Regions from separate parts of the Homo sapiens genome. Here region 1 is linked to region 2. Evidence: promoter capture Hi-C in human tissues and cell types (Jung and others, 2019). All regions are on one chromosome and are shown on one strand. The core of a region is centred on a gene start or on the middle of the fragment in contact, and the rest is flanking DNA. Distances in the headings are between cores, read along the strand shown. Region 1 overlaps BRD10 (bromodomain containing 10). Region 2 holds the start of CDC37L1 (cell division cycle 37 like 1, HSP90 cochaperone).

Evidence for each region. The method cuts DNA at HindIII sites, captures the fragments that hold promoters and counts their contacts. A contact is called where the count stands out against the background at its distance.
Region 1: a contact is called between a fragment that was not itself captured here and the fragment with the promoter of CDC37L1 in region 2, in 1 of the 25 tissues and cell types used here (lymphoblastoid cells).

The regions. Positions count from the first base shown.
Region 1 is chr9:5,994,200-5,999,211 of GRCh38, reverse strand. All of the region lies in intron 1 of BRD10 (bromodomain containing 10), which reads left to right. Among named protein-coding and RNA genes, the nearest start is that of MIR4665, 11 kb to the left of the region's middle. The HindIII fragment of the contact is 6,479 bases long and covers 22-5,012 here.
Region 2 is chr9:4,677,780-4,682,578 of GRCh38, reverse strand. CDC37L1 (cell division cycle 37 like 1, HSP90 cochaperone) reads right to left here and starts at 3,010. Exons shown (of 7, transcript NM_017913.4): 1 at 2,680-3,010. The coding sequence starts at 2,811. It overlaps CDC37L1-DT (CDC37L1 divergent transcript), which reads left to right and starts at 3,099. Exons shown (of 2, transcript NR_121598.1): 1 at 3,099-3,192. RefSeq lists an enhancer at 2,787-2,876. The HindIII fragment of the contact is 7,477 bases long and covers 2,810-4,799 here.

The sequences.
Region 1 (5,012 bases), core at 2,012-4,511, 1.3 Mb before region 2:
TCTGTTCTCAGGGAAAAAAATATGTTAAATACATAATTTTATCAGTTTAAGTTAGTCTACTACCAAGTTGTTTTTAGCAACTTTGCCAATAACCAAAAAAAGAATTATGGCAAATATAATTAATAAATTATAAACATATTGACAATATCAATATGCTTAATTTGACAGCTTAGTTTTTATAGACACAAATTTATATTTGTAACAGTTTAATACTTATAAGAACATAATCCTTAAAAAATACAACGTTGCTAGTAGAAGGTATTTAAAAACTATTAAATATGATAGTATTTCAAGGTATTCCACAGACTACTGACAAGTATGAGAACCATTTATATTCTTAAGTTTATCTAAATCCTTCGTACAATTCTAGTACGCTAGTGATTTCTACTACTTATTAATTCCAGGCTAGGAAATTTGATTGATAGTAATATTTAAGTCAAAGCTCTTAATCATATCCAAGACTTATTTTAAAAGTTTCATGAGAAGAGTATATAAATTATAGGATAACTGAAATCTCTTAATTTTTTACTAACAATTTAAACCCTTTTTTATCTCATATGTACACATGTATTATTTACTTACACCCAAAAAAATTAAATGCAAAGTTTGAGTTTGCTATATAGCACTTAATCATCATGCTTGGTTGCTTATGAACAAAAGCTGTAAGGATTGAGAGAAAGGAGTCTTTTCTCCTGAGAGACAGACTGGAGAGAAAAGGATCATAAAAGATTTGAAGGAGTAGGGAGCATTTAGATACCTGTGGTGGTAGGATTGACAGTATTTGCAATATAGATTATTAAAATGTTATGTGTATACATATTATGGAAATCTAAAGGAAATAGTTGAATTGTAACTAATATATGTAGACTTTTTAGCAATCCAGTGATTAGTGTTTATATTCGTAATAGTTTATTAATTAAAATGTGTACATCCTGGGGCAATAATAGAACAGTACAAGAGAAAATCTCCCTCTTTCACCAGTCTCCAGGTCTCCTACTGTTAAGAGGCCAATCCTACTGTTAATAGTTTCTTTTATCCAATTGAGTGTCCAGTAGCCATCTCAAACTTTAACATGTTCAAAACAGAACTTTTCTTTTTTTTGTTTATTTTTACTAAGTTTAGTCTTAGAGATTTGACCATCCACCAAATTGCTCTAGCCAAAAAAATAGCATTTTTCATTGATTCTTCCTACTTCTAAAGTATATTTTAAATCTTGCCTATTTCTTTCTATTGTTACCACTTAAGTAAGTGTTCTTGACTGTCCTTTACAAAACGTACAGTATGTAACTTATAGTTTGAACTTATTTATTATGTATTGTGTGTGCTTACTTTTTGTGTATCTTCTTTGCTATCCATGTAAGCTCAGAGCAGACAGGAATGTTGTCTGTGTTGTTGCCAAACCTACCCCACTACCTATAAGTGCTTAGTTAATATTGAATGAAGGAATGAATGAATGGATGGATGGATCTGCCTGAAATTTGTTTTGGTGAAGAAGTGAGGTTGAAATCCAGCTTAATTTTTTTCTCAAATACCCAGCCAGTTGTCGCAACATCAACTTTCTCCATTATTTTGAATTACCATGTTTATGATATATTATTGGTGTATTTGGATCTATTTTTCTTTATCATATGTCTCTGGTGTACTTGGATCTAACTTTCTCTGGTGTGCTGTTGATCTAACTATTCATCTTCTGATATTAAACTTTATTACTGTGACTTTAGAATTTATTTTAATATATTTGGTAGAGTGAGTCCTCTGTCAAAAAAAAAACCCATTTTTTCATGTATTTATTTTTCCATTAGATATGTGGCTTTTAAATAAGTATAGCAGAAGCAACATTTGCATCACCCATGTTTTGTTCACTTCGCATAAGAAATATGCAAGAAAACAATAAAAATCACTAGTTTGTGGGGAATAAGAGTGGTATTCTTCTCATTCATGAAGTGAAAGATGAAAAGTTGATAGCATTACTTATTTTCTGTAGACACTGTAATAGCCACTTGCTACATTCTTCTCATTTTAATTATGTCCTTAGCTCTTGCCAAGTCCCTATATCTCTTTGTTAAGACCTGTTATTTCAGGTAGGCAGGCGCTAAGACTTGCTCTAGCTTTCCTGCCTTTCTTCCTTGTGCCATTGTCTGAATCTGAAAGTGTCCTAAATTTACAATCAGCTACTTTAAAGCCTCATCAATGCTTAGGAGATAAATAGAAGAGTTGGCCAGGGACAGGAAGCCAAGGTATTTACCTGCGTACTTTGCAGACTCATTACATTTTTAGCATCTTCTAGGGAACATTAGCATATTGAGACAGTATGAGAGTTAGTGACCTAGAGAGCTTCTGTTCTGCCTGCATTGAGAACTCCTGAGAAGTAGGAATAGCTGTAGCAGTAGTAGTATGTTCAGCAGAGCAGCCCTAACTTACTAAAAATGCTTATCACACTTGTCAAGGTTGATAAGGCACTTTTCAAATACTGTTTGTCTGTAAATAAAAACTTTGCATTTGCCTTTGTGCCTTTCCTAAATTCAGAAAAACAGAATAAATATATTCTAAGCAAAACGATTTTTTAAAAATTAGTTACATGGCTCGGGCATGGTAGCTCATGCCTATAATCCCAGCACTTTGGGAGGCAGAGGTGGGCAGATCACCTGAGGTCGGGAGTTTGAGACCAGCCTGGCCAATGTGGTGAGAGACCCTGTGAAATCCCAACTCTACTAAACATACAAAAATTAGCCAGGCATAGTGGCATATGCTTGTAATCTTAGCTACTTGGGAGACTGAGGCACAAGAATTGCTTGAACCCAGGAGGCAAAGGTTGCAGTGAGCTGAGATTGTGCCATTGCACTCCAGCCTGGGTGACAGAGTAAGACGTTGTCTCAAAAACAACAACAACAACAAAAAAAAAAACCAAGTTACATGGTCTTCAGTTGTTCTTTGGGGCGTTATGTCATTTACCTGTTGCTGTTGCAGAAATGAATAATGGCTTTGGAAGGTTTTGTTTGTATTCTTCTCCTCTGGAGAGGAATAAATACATTTATTTTTATATATGTATTTATTTACTGTTGTTGTTTAATGGCTTTACTTACCACTAAGGGCTCCTAAATCAGTATCTTGAACCCCCCGCCTTTAGTTTTAGTTTCATATTTTTGTCCATAGAACTTTTCCAGTTGGTTGTGTAATTGTTATCTCAAAATGTTAAAAACTGAGTATATTTCTAGCCCAAATCTCCTTCCCAGTTTTCCTGTTTTTCTTTTTGACTTTTCACATTTTTGTCAGTGGTGTTATCATTGTTTCAGCCTGAATGTATCAGTCATCTTTGATGTTTATACTTTTAATTCCATATGTACAAATTGTTAGCGTGTTCTTTGCTAAATCCCTGTGGCTCAGTAAATATTTTGATGAATATATTTGAATAATATGAATGAATATTTTTGTCTTTATTTAGTATTCTCTCTCCACTCTTTCCTATCTATCTAAAACTGTTCTTTCTGCAAAGTCCAATTCAAGTTCTTAACAAAGGGTGACCAGATAGGGTATAGAAAGGTTGACTAAAATAAGAACTGAAAAATACCCTTTGCATTTCCTAACTGGGAGATCTCTGGGAAGAGGGATTTCAGTGGAGTAGCTCCAAGCAGATGCCACATTATAGATTGAGATGTGAATGAAAGATGAATTGGATCAGCAGTTTAGATGTTCCTCAGGGAAACTTGGACTTGTTTATATGCTAAAGCAGCTAACAGACAGAGAAAGAGAGTTTGAAGGCTCAGAAGATAATTAATGAAATACAAATTCTGAAGACCTGTGTAGTGATTCATTTTTCATTAGAGGATTGGAGGCACATTTTTCACTGAAACATAAAGTAAGGATGGGCCTGGATTTAGATAATTTTGGTTTTTGAGAAGCAGGAAGTTAATGGAGCTCTTACTTAAAAACTGCCGTTTTCTCTGAAATAAGTTATGGGCAGTCACCTGCGAGAAAGTGATGGAATGAAGCTTTTGAATAGTGGTAGCATTTGGGCCGGCATGGTGGCTCACGCCTCTAATCCCAGCAATTTGGGATGCCAAGGCGGGTGGATCAACTGAGGTCAGGAGTTCGAGACCAGCCTGACCAACATGGAGAAACCCCGTCTCTATTGAAAATGCTGAAAATTAGCCGGGCGTGGTGGCATATGCCTGTAATCCCAGCTACTCAGGAGGCTGAGGCAGGAGAATTGCTTGAACCAGGGAGGCGGAGGTTGCAGTGAGCCGAGATGGTGCCATTGCACTCCAGCCTGGGCAACAAGAGCGAAACTCTGTCTCAAAAAAAAAAAAAAAGAAAAATGATAGCATTTGAAGTTGCTGTTATGGAGAATGAAAGAGGGAGTTGACCACCTTCAAAGAAGTCATATTAGGTACAGTTGAGCCCAGCTGAGGTTATAGTTAGACAACAGATTATAAGGGGATTATTTTTTCTACCCTGCTCAGTAGGAGAAGTATAGGAGTGAAGGGGCCTTTGGCTGAGATTTAAGAGAGAGGCTACATGCCTGAGACAGAAATATAATTGGTCCAGGGAGATAAGAGAAGAGGTTAGTCATGTATTATGGGTCTCAACTGGTTATCTATGTGAATAGCTAAAAGAAGTTGAATTATGTTACAGCAAATGAGAGTCAGACAAGGGACTGGAGGTCTGAAGGAAGACGAAAAAGAAATTCAGGGGGAATAAGGTAATGACTGGGAAAATAGAAGGTAAAAATCAAGTAGAAAGTAAGTTTAATGGTCTTTAATAAGTGCTTTTTTGTGGGTATGAAGACTACTTCTTTTCCTGAAAACCTTTTTGTGTGTGAGGTAGCTTATAGCTGCAGATAAGAGCAGTGGTCTCCAGACTTTCATGATCTGGCTTCTCAAGCAGCAAACATTTTGAATATATACCTTCGATTATGCATATTTATTTATAAATCATATATGGATACTTTACTATTATGTTTTATATATTATAAAACATAAGCTAAGCTAGATACTTAAAATGAGAGAGTAAAT
Region 2 (4,799 bases), core at 1,761-4,260:
CCGAGGCGGGCGGATCACGAGGAGGAGCTCGAGACCATCCTGGCTAACGTGGTGAAACCTCATCTCTACTAAAAATACAAAAAATTAGCCGGGCATGGTGGCGGGTGCCTGTAGTCCCAGCTACTTGGGAGGCTAAGGCAGGAGAATGGCATGAACCCAGAATGGCAGAGGTTGCAGTGAGCCGAGATTGCACCACTGCACTCCAGCCTGGGTGACACAGCGAGACTCCATCTCAAAAAAAAAAAAAAATTAGCTGGGCACAGTGGTGGGCACCTGTAATCCCAGCTACTCAGGAGGCTGAGGCAGGAGAATCACATGAGCCTGGGAGGCGGAGGCTGTGGTGAGCCAATATCGTGCCATTGCACTCCAGCCTGGGCAACACAGCAAGACACTGCCTCAAAAAAAAAAAAAAAAAAAGAGAAAGGATAATATATCAAGAAAAGTAATATGGTAATATGGATAAATAGAAATTATCTTGCATTTTCAAATTATTTGGGAGCAAATATTCTTTTCTCAAATCGAAAAATTCTAAAAATAATGTATGTCTTATTTCTCCACAAACTACCCAGACAACATTTGGCCATTTGGGCAAACTATCCAACATGTATTCAGATATTAAATAAAATATTAGGTCACATTCTAATCCATGACCATACAGAAGTTTTAGAGGGACATTAAACATGATCTGCCTTTACATTAATTGGATCTAAGAACTACATATCACATACTACATTAAGAAGTCTAGATCCCCCTTATTTGATAAAATTAAGCCAAAGCTTTTTTTAGGATTATAAAATGTTAATCAATTAAACATTTTATTTTTTCCAAATATTCCAATCCAAAAATTTAAGTCTTAAAGCCAGTAAGACCAATAAGTAGGTTTGTAATAAACACATGAACTCAGAATTAATAATCAGTTTGCAAAAAAAATTTTTTTTTTTGAGACAAGAGTTTCGCTCTTGTTGCCCAGGCTGGAATGCAATGGTGTGATCTCGGCTCACTGTAACCTTTGCCTCCAACAATTCTCCTGCCTCAGCCTCCCGAGTAGCTGGGATCACAGGCATGCGCCACCACACCAGGCTGATTTTGTATTTTTGGTAGAGACAGGGTTTCTCCATGTTGGTCAGGCTGGTCTCGAACTCTGGTGGGCAGTGCAGTAGGTGGGAAAATATACTGGACTAGGAGTCATAAGTGGGTTCTAGTTTTAACCTGGCCACTAACTAGTTACATGGCCTCAGGGAAAACACTTTTAATGAGAGAGATAAGCTTACTCACTTCTAAAATCTCTTCCAGCTAAACAAATTTAGAAGTGCACAAGTAAGAAATTAACATACAGATATTTCTCTAGATTACTTCTGTAATTCAACCACAATGCACTGAAATTCTTGACACCCTTTTTTCTCTTCATATGCCTTCAAAATTGACAATGGCATCTGCTGTTCATTCTTCTTTCCTCCCTAGCACATCATGTGCTTATAATACATTTTGTATATAAAGATGACACTAGTGATCCAAAATTAGTGGGTGACTAATGATGGACCCATCAACTCTCATTCTGTCCTCCTAAAAAATGTCTTGTAGTTCCCCAGTGACTTAGCTGGCCAAAGTACAGACAGTGGTTATGAAACAGCATTTTTCTCTGTGTGAAGCCAACTAACCCTGTTAGCTGGACATAAGATTGATAATGTCACGCTTACTGGTAAGCAATTTAACTCATTCTCATTAACATCTAGCAAAATAAGTTGAGAGGAAAACTACTATTAAATCTGTTACACTCTTGGGAACCCCATTTTGCAAGAAGGCGGCAGACACTTATGATCCATTGAATATATTAGTGTTTAGTCTGTGATTCTGAAATATACTTCCAAAACACACACGGATTCGGAGAAAAAAACAGGACAAGGTGATGCGAGTATGTAAGTATCCCCTAAGATAGGTCCCTGAAAAATCCTTAATAGTATATCACATTTGGATACGTTTCAGTCGCAGGAAGGCAGGAATGCTGGATTGAAAACACAATACCAGGAACCTAAGAGAAGTCTGAAGGAAAACACAAGTATATGCGTATATATTTTCACTGGAGAATGACGTGAAGCAAAACTAAAAAACAAAACAGTAAGGCAAAGATGGTCACGCGAATGGGAGAGGTGTACGCCAGCGTCAAAAGCGAGATTTAAAGAATTTACTCAGTTGTCAACATCGGTGAAAATCGCATGTGAAATCTTTGTCAGGACTCAGTGTGATGCTGAACTACAATCATTCACTGTTCCTAGCAACTGTGCACAAGTATGCTAGAGCCTTTAACAGAATAAAGTGCTTGGGGAAAACCTCTCACAAGAGGACAAAGGGTCAATGTTACAGCATGAGCCGCCCCAAATCTGAGTGCTGTCAGGAAGGGGAGATGGAGGAAGGTATTCCAAGAGTGAACAGGAATCAGCCAAGGCGAAAGAAAACATGTGCGTGGAGGTGGAGGTTGGTAATATATGGCCACCCCGTCTGCCCTCCGAAGATGCCATAAAAGGGGTGGGATGGCATCAGGCGTCAGGTCCCAGGTCCCCGGCCCCTGGCAGTGAGGTGGGCGTAGAAAAAGGCGTAGAAGAGGGTCTGGGAGACGCGGCATTCCAGGGGTTTGGCGACAGCACCACTCCATCCCTCCGCAGAACGCAGGCCCCTTCTCACCTGGGCGCCGCCGCCTGGCAGCTGCGGGCAGCGGGGAGAACTGGGGAACACGTCGAAGTCACTCTCTTCCTCAGCCTCACCCTCGGCCCGAGGGAGGCTCCAGGGTCCCGGAGGCGGCCACGGTTGTTCCATGTCCGGCTGCTCCGGGTCCTACAACCGCCCTTGGCCCTACAACTGCCACTGCCAACAGACTTGGCGTGAATGGAACCTGCTGCGCCGAGCCAGAAGCCCAGCCGGGGGTCCGGGCCGTTACCCAGAATCCCTCTACTGGCCGCGACGCCGCTGCACACCCGGCGACAGCCTGGGCCTCGCCACCGGCGGACGGCGGAAGAAATAGTCGGCGCGGTGCGTCACTTCCGGTTGGGGCGGGGCTGTGGAGGCGCGTCCCGGGCCCTTTGCGTGTAGTGGGTGGATCTGCAATTGTATTCCTGTTTCAAGCCCCGTTTTCTTGCAGCTCTTCGGCACTGCAAACCTAACCGCTAATGGCGCTGTGGGTGGAGAAACGTTTGTTAGGTAGCGTTATATATTGTTATCTGGTGTTCCCTATACCGAAAACGGCGGGTCCTGGCCGCCGGGAGGTACTCAGACCAGGTGTGCACTTTACATGTTGCTTAAAAATTGCAACTCATTCCTTTACATTGACATTTAAACCAGTGATTCTAAGGCAGAGTTGGGGCGGAGGGAGGAGAATTTTGAACAAGCGGAGCCAATTTTCGTCTCATTTCTAATTACAGGCAACAACAGAATTCTGCGAAACTTGGTTGGTTGGAGGAGCACACCAAAAATAAAGTACCGGAGCCGGCACGGCTTCAAAAAAATTAGGATCAGTACCGCTAGTAGCGAACGCATAAGAAGGGCTTCCTGTATGCCTGCGTATCTTGTTTAAGCCTAAAGATATGTACTCTCTTTATCCTCTTTTTTTGAGACGAGGAAGTAGACCCAGCATGCCCGAGATCACACATTTTACAAGGAAGAAGTAGGATCCAGACCCAGGGAGTTTAACTTCAAAACTTGAACGTTTAACAATCAGGTCTTGCTGCCCTACTCATAAAGAGACCCAAATAAAAACAACATGACGCCATTTTTTTCCATGTGTTTAGACTGGCAAACTTGTGAAGTCGCTTAATACCAAATGTGTACCAAGATGTAAGGAAATGATGTGAGAATGTCATTAGTATAACCTTTTAGGAGGAGTAATTTGACAATATGAGAGGCTTGAGCGGATTGATTCAGCAATTTCACCACTAAGAAAGTATGCAACAATTATTTTTGCACCAATATCCAAAGATTTACTACAAAGATTTCTGGCAGCAATTTTTGTGTGTGTGTGGCAAGAAAAAAAAAAGCATTCTAATTGTCCATCGATAGAGGAACTTAAAGTATGGAATATTAATACAATGGCATATTACCCTTTTTAAAAAAAGTAAATTGTATCTGAATATGCTGATATATAAATACCTCCAAAAGGTATTGAGTTTTAAACAAAGCAACTTGCAGAATTAAACATATGCGTACGTATACAGAGAGAGAAGAGAGAGGGATGGTATTTGTTTGCGTCCGTGTGTGTGTGTGTGTGTGTGTGTGTGTGTGTGTGTGTTTGCGCAGAACATTCCTGGAGGATATGCAAGAAACTGTTAATGATTACCTCTGGTGGGTGAGCCTAGGAAGGAAAGCTTCTGAGGATCTTTACTTTCCACATTTAGCTTCCCTGTACTGTGCTGTTTGAATATTTTTCCAATGAATGTATACTATAATTATAGTATTATAACAGTACAAGATTATAACAGTACAAGATTACTATAAAATTAATTACAAATAAAAGCTGAGAATCACTTTTGCACCTAAACCTTTTGAATTTAGGGGTGAAAGTCACAGGAGAGACTGGAAAGGGAGGAAGAAAAGAAAAACATTTTTCTCTTTGCTTCCATGAAGCCACAAAGTGCTTTGAATAGTGCCTGGCATAAAGTAAGCCCTATATAAACGCTAATGCTGTTAGTTTTTCTCCTACCTCTTTCACTACTTCTCCTCAGTCTTCTTCCCTTCTAGCTGACCTCTAACTTTAGAGTTCCTCATATTTTGGCCAGTGAGGAGAATCCTGTTTATTCCTGTGGCTTTAAATA